Linked DNA regions of Homo sapiens: region 2 is linked to region 1. The links are contacts of gene promoters, found by promoter capture Hi-C in blood cells and fetal thymus (Javierre and others, 2016). All regions are on one chromosome and are shown on one strand. Each heading gives the region's core, a stretch centred on a gene start or on the middle of the fragment in contact. The rest is flanking DNA. Distances are from core to core; before and after follow the strand shown.

Region 1 (6,028 bases), core at 1,343-3,842:
GCCGGGCGTGGTGGTGCACGCCTGTAATCCTAGCTACTTGGGAGGCTGAGGCAGGAGAATCGCTTGAAGCCAGGAGGCAGAGGTTGCAGTGAGCTGTGATGGTGCCATTGCACTCCAGCCTGGGCGACAGGGCAAGACTCTGTCTCAAAATAAATAAATAAATAAATAAATAAATAAATTCAGTTATAGCAAGTGCTGAAGTCTTTCTGTCTTTTCATGCTCCTTGAAGTCCTTTCACAGTTTTTCCTGGCTCTTCTACGCCTCCTCTCGGCCACGCCCTTTAGCACCCAACCCCTCAACAGGTAATGATCCTCTCTTCACGTGGCCATTGCGGGTACATGATTGGTTTCCTGTACTGACTGCTCTTCTCGTGAGACCAAGCTTCCTTTCCCCTACTCCCCACACACCTGATCATTGTGAACAAACCGCCGAGAGAACAAGGTAAGGCAGAAGGAACAGAAGCTGCAGAGAGCGGCAGGGGATAGCCACCAGCCAGATTCTGTGACTCTTCATTCATCTCCCCACTCCAGTCCCAGATTGAAGAATAATCTTCATGATCTCCTTAATGGCAAAATGCTAGAAAGACTTACCGAGGGGTCTGAAGATGCCTTCGGTTCTCCAGGTCCTGAACTCTGTTCCAGTTACAGGAGGACTGGCAATCCCTAGGTTTCCTGGGTGTTACTTTGTTACTGACCTCCTCTGAGATTTCCATTTTCCTCAATTTCGTCTAACTAAATCTAACTACGTCTAACTACCTCTGCTAACCAGACATTTGTTCATAGTCGACAGAGTTTCCGAAAATGCAATGTAGTTACCTTGCAGATGACTATAATTGTGTAGCAAAATAACTAAGATGCCACTGGCTATATGGAAAAAAAAATTACTTAGGATTTTGATACCTTTTATGGTTTATTTCCCCTTTTGGCCTGTGAACTTCATGAAGGTAATGGTTATGTATGATTCCCGAGTAATCACAGTTCCCAGAACGATCTTTTTTTTTTTTCTTTCTTTTTTTCTTTTTTGAGACGGAGTCTTGCTCTGTCGCTCAGGATGGAGTCCAGTGGCGCGATCTCGGCTCACTGCAAGCTCCACCTCCCGGGTTCACATCATTCTCCTGCCTCAGCCTCCCGAGTAGCTGGGACTACAGGCGCCCGCCACCACGCCCGGCTAATTTTTTCTATATTTAGTAGAGACGGGGTTTCACCATGTTAGCCAGGATGGTCTCGATCTCCTGACCTCGTGATCCTCCCGCCTCGGCCTCCCAAAGTGCTGGGATTACAGGCGTGAGCCACCACGCCCTGCCCCCAGAACGATCTTGAGAACAGAATGTTCCCAATAAATATCCACTGGAAAATGCACCTTATTTTTGTTGAAGGAATGGTGGAATTAGCATCAAAGGGATCTTCAACATTAACTCGGGCCGGGCACGGTGGCTCACGCCTGTAATCCCAGCACTTTAGGAAGCCGAGGCGGGCGGATCACGAGGTCAGGAGATGGAGATCATCCTGGCTAACATGGTGAAACCCCGTCTCTACTAAAAATACAAAAAATTAGCCGGGTGTGGTGGCGGGCGCCTGTAGTCCCAGCTACTCGGGAGGCTAAGGCAGGAGAATGGTGTGAACCTGGGAGGCAGAACTCGCAGTGAGCCGAGATCGTGCCACTGCACTCTAGCCTGGGCGACAGAGCGAGACTCCGTCTAAAAAAAAAAAAAAAAAAAAACTCTATGGCTGGTAATTCTAAGCGTTTTATAATACATCACAAAATGTTCTTTTATTTTTCTAAATTGCACTGAATCAACAAACGGAGTAGACAGGCACATTTTCTTCACTTTAAGGAAAGACTTTGTTGTTTTTTAGCTAGGGGCCGACCCAAAGTGATCACTGGCTCTCACATGAGACCCAGGAGCCTCCCCAGTTTGAAGCCCGATATCACATTTCCCAGAATACTTGATGCCCTCGCCCGCCTCCTCTGGCTATCAACCAGACGGAAAGGGGATGTGCCTGGGAGTTTGATGCCAAGGGAAGGATGCGGAATGTCTGTTTTCTACTAAGGGCTTCTGCTGGGCCTTTCCAATGTCCAGTTTGAGTTGGTCTGGGACCTGGCCTCCGCAAACACCCTGCAGGCTCCGGCCGCCGGGGATGAGGTGGAAGACTGGGCAGAAGAGAGGCCGCAAAGGCCCGAGGGCTGAGCTGCTCTGCGCTGGGGAGGGGCGAAGTGCCAGAGCGCGGGAGACCTCATGGTGGGCACCAGGCTGCTCCGCGGTAGGTGGGTGAGGCCAGGAGATTCACATCTGCAGATGCCACAGTGAGGATACAGCATTTAGATCCCTCGGCTCCAAACAGGCGGTTCCGGGGGACCGGTAGCTGGGGAATTGGGTTTAGCACTTTCCAACGCTTGGAACTGGACATCCACGGCTCCGAGTCCTTTGAGGTCTTGCTCGGGACTACGTTTCCCAGAAGGCTAGGCGATAATTGACAGCTCTATCAGCCTATGGACAGAGAAAAATTCTAGCCATGGAAACTGAAAAGCCAATAGCAAGAGGATGGGGGCGGTACTTTCCGGCCGCTGGCTGTCGAAGCCGGAGTCCCACCTGTGTCCCCACAGCCCTGTCACGAATCCCGGTCGGGTTCTGGGAGGCACAGCCTCGGGGTTGCGGGCCGGGTGCGGCTCGGCGGTGGAGGACTCACTTCCTGCTCCATCCCCGGCTGGGCCCTGGGGCGGTGAGTGATTCAAGGAGGGAGACCGCGGCGGCAGCGGCGCGCTGCTGAGGGGCGTGGAGGGGGCTTGCCCGCCACCCAGACGTTTTCTCAGCGGGGTTCCCGCGCTGGCCTTTGGGAGCCCCCGGGTCTTGCTGGGCTGTGGGAGAGGTAGCTGTGGTCTCTATACCGTCGGCGGGATAAGTCATTCTCTTAATCAGTTTTCTTGCTTCTCGATGGTGGTCCCAGGGTTTCAGCTGATCTGTGACCCTCTGACCGCCGCACCCCGGTTAGGGCGCGAGCACCGAGAAGAAGAACGGGGTTCGGCCCCACGCGTGCAGTCATGTTCCTATTAATAAACCCGGTGAACGCACTGGAGCTTCTCACAGTGGCACTTAGTCACAGCCCCTCAGCGCTGTGGGGCCTTTGAGGTCACCTGTGCATGGGGAAAGGGACGGGCTGGGAAACAGGGTTTCTATAACCGTGGCTAAGACGTCTCCCCTCCTCAGTGGCGCTGTCTCCAGCAAGTGGGCCCTGCAGCTGTGTTTTGTAATGAATGTAGAAATAAAAATTATACTCAAAACTCTTTTTTTTTTTTAGACGGAATTTCGCTCTTGTTGCCCAGGCTGGAATGCAATGGCGCTATCTCCTTTCACTGCAGTCTCCACCTCCCGGGTTCAGGCGATTCTCCTGCCTCAGCCTCCCAAGTAGTTGGGATTACAGGCGTGTGCCACCACACCCGGCTAATTTTGTATTCTTAGTAGAGACAGGGTTTCACCATGTTGGCCAGGCTGATCTCGAACTCCTGACCCCAGGTGATCCGCCCGTCTCGTCTTCCCAAAGTGCTGGGATTACAGTCATGAGCCACAGCACCTGGCCAATACTGAAAACTCTTATTACAATTTTTACTTTCTAATTACATTATTGTTGTTTGTTAAAGTTTTAAACCAGAGAGATGGTTTTTAGATCCTTAAAAACTCAATACTTTATAAATGACCAATAATAATGTCTGTAAATACAAAAATATTTCCCCCAAAAGTGTGTGTGTGTGTGTGTGTGTGTGTGTGTGTGTGTGTGTGTTCCAGTAGTAAATAGGTGATTTGTAGTGGGACAAAAGATGTGAAAGAGTAAAACTTCTTCACCACAGTCTGGTCCTTCCTCCCTTGAAATGCAATATTCTTTGTAGTGGGTGGTCATGCTGGCTGCATTTTTTTTTTTTTTAAGGGAGAGACAGGGGCTCACTCTGTTGCTAGGCTGGGGTGCAGTGGCGCCATCATAGCTCACTGCAGCCTGGAACTCCTGGGCTGAAGTGATCCTCCCACTTCAGCCTCCTGAGTAGCTGGGACCACAAGTGCATGCCACCATGCCTGGCTGATTTTTAAAAGTTCTTTGTAGAGAAAGAGGTCTCAATATGTTGCTGAGGCTGGTTTATTGGAAACTTTTTAAGGGAAAAAACATTATCTTAATTTCTATGTGACTCCTATGCCTGGCAACATATTAATTGTTGAATAAATGACTGATCCATCCAGTAATTCACTCTTGACTATCCTCCAAAAAGTAATGTTTTTCATGATATTGCTGTCGATTTATTAATATATTAATGATTGGTTTCAGCCCCTAAGAGTTGTGTTTTGTGCTTATTCCCACTTTCACTTATTTTTACAACCTATCCATGTCTTCTTTTTTTTAAAAAAAAAATGTCTTTTTCAGTCTTATTTCTGACTCCATTAAGATCTTGAAATAGAATGGTATCCAACACAGTTCCCTTTGGGGTTCTGTATAATCTGTCCCTTGAGGTTGACACCAAATCTGCAAGCCAAGAAGTTAGCTGCTCCCATAACTAATATGAGTATAGTTAAGGCCACAATTTCCTTGCTTGCTGAGGAAAATGAAGTTGGGGAGAATCAAAAGCTTTCCAGAAATCAAATTACACCTGCCAACTCTCTCCTTTGTTTACCTTGTTCATCGTGGACAATTTGTTCCTCAAAAAGTCAATGTGTCTAAAAGACTGGGTTCTGTCGATGTGTTTGGGAGGCCTAGGCCTCTCTTAGTAATGGGAAAGTTGGCCAGGAGAAGACGTATGTAAAAACAGACTTAGAAAAGCACCCCTCTGTGGTTGACAGAATTTACCTCAGGACCATTCTGGTCAGGTGTGGGGGGTTGTTTGTGTACACTGGTGGCCATTTTTTGGCTTTCAGACAATGGTGAGAATATCTAGGGAGCTACTGATGCACATTGAGGTCTCTTGCTTTAGGAACTGATGACGCTTGATAATGTGGCTGGGGACTTCAGGGAAGAGTGGGTTACCTGGACACTGCTTAGAGAATCCTCTCCAGGAATGCCACCCAGCACAGTTAGAAGAATGGGCTCTCAAAGGGTAAGAATGCTACTCTCCTTTATTTCATTTATTTATCTTGTTTTTTTTGAGACGGGGTCTCGCTCTGTCATCCAGGCTGGAGTGCAGTGGCGCGATCTCGATTCACTGCAATCTGTGCCTCCTGGGCTCAAGCGATTCTCCCACCTCAACCTCCTGAGTAGCTGCGATCACAGGCATGTGCCACCATGCCTAGCTAATTTTTTGTGTTTTTAGTAGAGACAGGATTTTGCTATGTTGGCAAGGCTGGTCTCACTATGCTGTCCAGGCTGGTCTCAAACTCCTGAGCTCAAGCAATCCACTGGCCTCCGCCTTCCAAAGTGCTAGGATTATGGGCGCCACCATGCCTGACCACTGCTCTCCTTTAATTTGAGACTTAGATATTTGGAGAGGGCCCAGGTCTGAGGAGTTTCTGGTATGTTGGCATCTTAGAGCTCCAGACCTCTGTAAGATTAATTGTTGCCTCCTTGGGAGAAAAACAATTACTTCCTTATGCATTTTATGGTTTGCAAATGTCTTTGCTATTTATTGTCCTTTTAATATCTCATCATAACTTTTTGACTTATGTATTACTATCCCCCTTTTCCAGCCTGGGTTGGACTCTCACCTCTGCCACTTAACTTCTGAGACTTCTGAGGTCTTTGTGGAAAAGGAGGTAATTTTTTCTGTCACTTAAAAACAGGCTGGGGGCAGTGGCTCACGCCTGTAATCCCAGCACTTTGGTAGGCTGAGGTGGGCGGATCATAAGGTCAGGAGTTCGAGACCAGCCTGGCCAACATGATGAAACCCTGTCTCTACTAAAAATAAAAAAATTAGCTGGGTGTGATAGCGGGCGCCTGTAATCCCAGCTACTTTGGAGGTTGAGGCAGGAGAATTGCTTGAACCTGGGAGGTGGAGGTTGCAGTGAGCTGAGACCACGCCATTGCACTCCAGCCTGGGCAATAGAGCAAGACTCTGT
Region 2 (6,514 bases), core at 3,808-6,307, 100 kb after region 1:
AGTAGGGGTCCTGGCTTTATAACAACCCATTCTAATGAGAACTGATCCGTTCTCCCCAAGAACCAATCCAATCTTGCAAGAGCTCACTACCATGAGAATGGCACAAAGCCGTTGATGAGACATTTGCTCCTATGACCCACACAGCTCCTACTAGGCCCTGCCTCCCAACACCACCACACTGGGGATCAAGTTTCTTCTTTTTTTTTTTCATACCCTTAGGGTGATGTCAGGTATCAGATTTCAATGTGAGATTTGGTAGGGACAAATAAACCAATCCAAACCATAGCACTGTCTTTTCCCTGATGTGTGTTCTTGGTGTCTTTGTCAAAAAATGTTCTCCTCATGGCTGTAAATGTGTGGCTTTGTTTCTGAGTTCTCTATGGTGTTCTGTTGGTCTGTGTGCCCTTTTTTTTTTTTTTTGAGACGGAGTCTCACTCTGTTGCCAGGCTGGAGTGCAGTGGCACAATTTCAGCTCACTGCAACCTCTGACTCCCTGGTTCAAGCGATTCTCCTCTCTCAGCCTCCTGAGGAGCTGGGATTACAGGCACGTGCCACCACACCTAGCTCATTTTTGCATTTTTAGTAGAGACGGGGTTTCACCGTGTTGACCAGGATGGTCTCGATCTCCTGACCTCGTGATCCACCTGCCTTGGCCTCCCAAAGTGCTGGGATTACAAGCGTGAGCCACCGTGCCTGGCCAAGTTACTCCAGTTTTAAAGGTAGAACTGGAGTCAATATAGCCTCACTTTGGCTCGCACACACTTCATGATTTGTTAGGGAAATATCTGGAGGAGGTGAGACTTAAGGGATCGCTAAGATTTGGATGGTGAAAGAGGTGAGAAAAGAACGTCCTAGTGCAGGACAATGAGGGAAAAAGGAGGTGGGAGCGGAAGTACAGGTAGTGAAAGATGTCTTTGAGGAATGGTGGTTAGAATACAAATTTTGTAAATGTTTTGGGCTGAGTTGTGTAAGATCAAGGGGTGGAAAGATTGTAGAAAGCTTTGAATGGTAGCTTAAGAAGCCAGGCAGTAGGAGAAGGAAGAGGTGGTTTAGATGGGAAGTAGTGGTAGCATATAGGATGAATTGAACGGGAAGAAAATAGGGATGAGGAGAACAGTTAGGAGGCTGCTTTTTGAAGAAAACATCTTGATTGAGACATGGTTCACATACCGTACAGTTCACCCTTCTTCAGACAAAGGAGGCTGCTTTTTTAAAGACGAAAGTTCCACTTCAAACTTCATGGCTGATAGCCACAGAATGTGATATTTTTCCCATGAAGATTGGCACCTTCTTCCCCTGAGGGCTCTCTAAGCCCACTGCGTTTCTGACTCCTGTTTTTTACACAGGATTGGCAGCAGTAGCACTGATTAATGCTGCAATCCAGAAGGGTGTTGCTGAGAAGACTGTTTTGGAACTGATGAATCCCGAAGCCCAGCTGCCCCAGGTGTATCCATTTGCCGCCGATCTCTATCAGAAGGAGCTGGCTACCCTGCAGCGACAAAGTCCTGAAGTGAGTTCACTAAACCTGTCCTGTTTGTGAGCAAAGTTGGGTGGACGTGAGTGTAATACCCACTTCTTCCTGTGGTTAGGTAGAACTTTTTTGCATAAACTTGGTTTTCTTACAGTTTTATTAAACTTATAACTCCCTGGGTCTTGGAGAATGTCTTTCCTCACTGTTTTCCCTTCTGTCCCTTTCTGTACAGCATAATCTCACCCACCCAGAGCTCTCTGTCGCAGTGGAGATGTTGTCATCGGTGGCCCTGATCAACAGGGCATTGGAATCAGGAGATGTGAATACAGTGTGGAAGCAATTGAGCAGTTCAGTTACTGGTCTTACCAATATTGAGGAAGAAAACTGTCAGAGGTGGGTGTCCAGAGTGAAGGGAATAAATCCATTACGTAGCTGTTAACCCTGTCTTTTGTATGTCAGTGCTCCGATTTTCTTTGCAGGCATTATTACTTTATCATGGTCATACTTTTGTTTGGTTCTACTTTGATTCACTTAATTCTTTGTTATGCTGAAAAATATGACATTCCGTTCCTAAATATATAAGTAGGCTTAAATATGTTACATAGTCAAAATAACACTATCTCTGACAAAGTTAAATAATACTTTTTAAATATCATCTAACCCTAGCTAGTTCATTTTCATTCTTCATTTGTTCCCAAACTGTCCTTTATAGCTGTTTTGTTGAAAACAAGATCTAGCCTAGGAACATGTATTATATCTGGCTGTTGTGTCCCTTGAGTATCTTTTAATCTAGAATTGTCCCTTTCTTCATGAGACTGACTTGTTAAAGGGATGGGACCAATTGCCTATTTTATGGATAGTTCTAGTTGCTTTCTCATATTTGCCTTATTCCTGTAAATTGGAAATTAAATTTCTAGGCTTGTCACGATTCAGTTCAACATTTTTGATGATGTGTATTTCATATTGCCTCATATCAATAGGCATATAAAACCCACTTTTCCCACCATCCCACCATTAGAGATACTAAGATTGATCCCTGGATTAGGGAGACCACTTATACTTCCATTGCGTATTTACGCTTTTCCCTCATCACTAGAACATCATCTCTTTTGCACCGTCAAAATATCTAGTTTTCCATTAAGCATTCACGTGATATTTTTAACCCAATTGATAATCTTTCCTAAATCAGTACCTTCAGTAAAAGTTGCTGAATGATGATTTGTTGCTCTGTCATTCCTCCTGCATTTATTAGCTCATGTGTAGCCTTTTTTTCTTGTCTATGGAGGAATTGCTTGAACTGCTGCCTTTAATTCTAGAGTTAGTCTTAACATGGAATTTAGAATATGTAACAGGATATTGAGAATAAGTGATTTCTGTTGCATTTTTGCACTTTGTTTAAAGTAACTGTGCAGTTCCAAAACTGGTCTTGAGAATATATCAAATGGTTGGGATACCCTAGCAATCTTTGTTCCTTGAATATTTAAACATGCTGTGCTTAATGCTCTTTTTACTTGGGGGTCTGGGGCAGGTATCTCGATGAGTTGATGAAACTGAAGGCTCAGGCACATGCAGAGAATAATGAATTCATTACATGGAATGATATCCAAGCTTGCGTGGACCATGTGAACCTGGTGGTGCAAGAGGAACATGAGAGTGAGTTATCTTCCTGTCCTCCCCAAATAATGTCACCATTAATGATGATGTGATTCCATGAAGTGGTTCAAAATACTACTCCTAGAAGGATTTTTGGGTGAGAGATTGAAAATATCTATATAACACAAAAGGCTAAAGTTGGATATTGTTTTGAGAACACCAGGCAATTGCTATAATTAGGTATATGTCCAGTAAGAACTAAATTTTGGGGGAGGTGAATTGAACATGATCTGTTATTTTTAAATGCTGTTATAACAAGTAGTCCTGACACTACATGGAATTAGGTTGAATTGCACAGGTTGTAGGCATGGTCCTCCACAAGACTCCTCTCACTTCAGACACAAGCTGAAAGCTGCAGGGTTCCCAGGCCACTGTACTTCTGAACAACTGGCTGCAAATTTGGAGGATCCCTTCTACCCGCTCAGGTTTAATAATTTGCTAGAATGACTCACAGAACTCAAGAAAATGCTAGACTTACGATTAAAATTTTATTACAAAATATGTAAATCAGGATCAGCTGAAAGAAGAGAATCATCAGGCAATATCTGTGAGAGTCCCCAATATGAAGCTTCTGTGTTCTCAGGATGTGTCACTCTCCTGGCACATTGACGTGTATCACCAACCAGGGAAACACACCTGAGTTTTGGGTGTCCAGAGTTTTTATTTGGGTTCGTTACATATGCGTGATTGATAGTATTGGCTTTGCGATTAAACTCAATTTTCATTTGGCCTCTGCTCCCTGGAGAATGGGAGGCCAGGCTGGTATCACGTGACTCTATACCTCAGTGGTTGATCTTTCCAGCATGGCCAGCCTCCATCCTTAAACTCTCATGAGGCCAACCAGGAGTCATTGGTTGGCATAAATTCAGGTGTGGGCGGAGGGGCCCACCATGAATCACAGAAACATACCTATCACTCAGGATATCCCAAGGGTCTTAGACGCTCCCCCAGAGACAAAGACCAGCCAGACTTTTTATTATACAGCAGAGTCCTTACAAAAGCAGTACGGCTGCCTAAGATACCTGGGGAGTGAACGTTCCTAATTTTAATTTGTATTTCCTGGGAGAAATATTCAACTGACTTGGTGGGAAGAGCCTTGCTTCGCATTAGGGAGCCCTGCGCTTGGATCTTTCTTCTGCCATTTGTTTGCTGTGTAATCTTGGAGAAGAGATTGCTAAGCCTTGTTATTTCTTCTATAAAAGTGTTGAATTAGATGACTTTTTAAGAACCCTTGAACCTTTTTAAGACTCTTCGTGAATCCTTTGTGACTCAAGAATGTTTTTGATTACACATTCCAGTGTACCTGAAAGCTATACAGTAAGGCCAGTTTCATAAAAATCCTCATCGCTTTTAAGTTAGAGCAATTAAAAATGAAACAAAAGGACTTGAGCATTCAATAGGAATATGAATACAAGTGAGTTTAGTTGAAATAAATACTAATTAAAAAATGAAAACAGTGCTGCTTAACGGATGGTAAGTTGCAGTTTGAATCATGGTTACTCTTAGGTGGATTTATGATTAGTTAGCATGTTCCATGATTGATTTGTTTATGTACTTCCTTAATTAGAAAAAAAAAACTTTCTGTCTCTTTATATTTAGGGATTTTAGCCATTGGTTTAATTAATGAAGCCCTGGATGAAGGTGATGCCCAAAAGACTCTGCAGGCCCTACAGATTCCTGCAGCTAAACTTGAGGGAGTCCTTGCAGAAGTGGCCCAGCATTACCAAGACACGCTGATTAGAGCGAAGAGAGAGAAAGCCCAGGTGAGTGGCATCGGAATTGTTCTTTATGTTCAGAGCACCTCAGCCCTCCTAGAACAAAGGTAGAGGTAGGAATATCTTCCTTGATTCATTCAGTGAATGCCTTCTGGGCACCCTTAGATTCAAAGCACTGGAGGGACACAAAAATGTGAGAGACATAGGCTCCACCTACTAGGAGCTCATGCTGTTTTACACATTTGGGTTTTTGTTCTTTTGTTTGTTGTTGACAGTCTTTTGTGTCTCTTTCAGTAAATTCTTTACTGAAATATAAGATCCAGGGCTGGGCGCAGTGGCTCACGCCTTGTAATCCCACAGCACTTTGAGAGGCCAAGGCAGGCAGATCCCTTGAGGCCAGGAGTTCAAGACCAGCCTGGCCAACATGGTGAAACCTCATCTCTACTAAAAAAAAAAAAAAAAATACAAAAATTAGCTGGGCGTGGTGGTGCATGCCTGTAATCCCAGCTACTTGGTAGGCTGAGGCACAGGAATTACTTGAGCCTGAGAGGTGGAGGTTGCAGTGAGCCGAGATTGCGCCACTGCACTCCAGTCTGGGGGACAGAGTAAGACTCCGTCTCAAAAAAATATATATATATATATATGTGTGTGTGTGTGTATATATATATATACGTATATATATAATATACGTATATATACATATATACGATCCAGAAAAAAAAATATATATATATGATCCAGAAAAATGAACAAGGTAGATGGGTATGCAATTGCATAAATTTTCAAAAGGAGGCACACCTGTGTATTTGGCAGTCAGATTGTAGAACCCATTACCAGCACCACAGAGACCTTCCTCATATCCCCTTCCACCCTTAGCCACCCTCCATTTGGTGGTAAGCACTATTCTGATTTCTATTAATAACACCACAGTTCATTTCCGTCCACTTTTGAGCTGTATTTAAGTGGGATCATACCTTATGTGCTCTTTTGTGTCTGGCTTCTGTTGCCCTAAATAATGTTAATGATATGCATCCATGTGGTTGCATGGAGCCATCCTTTGCTCATTCTCATTGTTGTGTACTATTTCATTGTGTGGTTATATGTTATTGGTGAAGTTTTTTGTTGTTTTGTTTGTTTTTTCAGACTGTTGTAAATAGGGCTTCTTTGTTTTTTTTTTGAGACGGAGTCTTGCTCTGTCACCCAGGCTAGAGTGCAATGACGCAATCTCAGCTCACTGCAACTTCTGCCTCCCAGGTTCAAGCAATTCTCCTGCCTCTGCCTCCCCAGTACCTAGGATTACAGGCGAGAGCCACCATGCCTGGCTAAAATTTTTTTTTTTTTTTTTTGTATTTTTTGTAGAGATGGGGTTTCACCATGTTGGCCAGTTTGGTCTCGAACTCCTGACCTCAAGTGATCTGCCCGCCTCAGCCTCCCAAAGTGTTGGGAATTACAGGCATGAGCCACTGCCCATGGCCTGTAAATAGTGCTTCTATGAATTTTTAATTTTGGTTAAAAACATATATGTGCATTTCTGTTAGGTATACATTTTGGAGAGGAGTTATGGCCATAGGGAACACATATATGAAGCTTTAATAGATAATGTCATGAAGGTTTTTTGTGACAACTTAATTGAAACGTAATTCACGTATCAGGTAATTCAGCGTCAGTGGACTTT

Evidence for each region. The method cuts DNA at HindIII sites, captures the fragments that hold promoters and counts their contacts. A CHiCAGO score of 5 or more calls a contact.
Region 2: a fragment that was not itself captured here is called in contact with the fragment with the promoter of ZNF774 in region 1 in 8 of 17 cell types (endothelial precursors, activated CD4 T cells, naive CD8 T cells and 5 more); the score reaches 7.8 in endothelial precursors.

What each region holds. Positions count from the first base shown.
Region 1 is chr15:90,349,692-90,355,719 of GRCh38, forward strand. ZNF774 (zinc finger protein 774) reads left to right here and starts at 2,593. Exons shown (of 4, transcript NM_001004309.3): 1 at 2,593-2,720; 2 at 4,951-5,073. The coding sequence starts at 4,970. The HindIII fragment of the contact is 4,226 bases long and covers 380-4,605 here.
Region 2 is chr15:90,451,429-90,457,942 of GRCh38, forward strand. It overlaps IQGAP1 (IQ motif containing GTPase activating protein 1), which reads left to right. Exons shown (of 38, transcript NM_003870.4): 12 at 1,347-1,510; 13 at 1,704-1,864; 14 at 3,000-3,124; 15 at 4,724-4,887. Among named protein-coding and RNA genes, the nearest start is that of IQGAP1, 66 kb to the left of the region's middle. RefSeq lists an enhancer at 4,723-5,234. The HindIII fragment of the contact is 2,734 bases long and covers 3,691-6,424 here.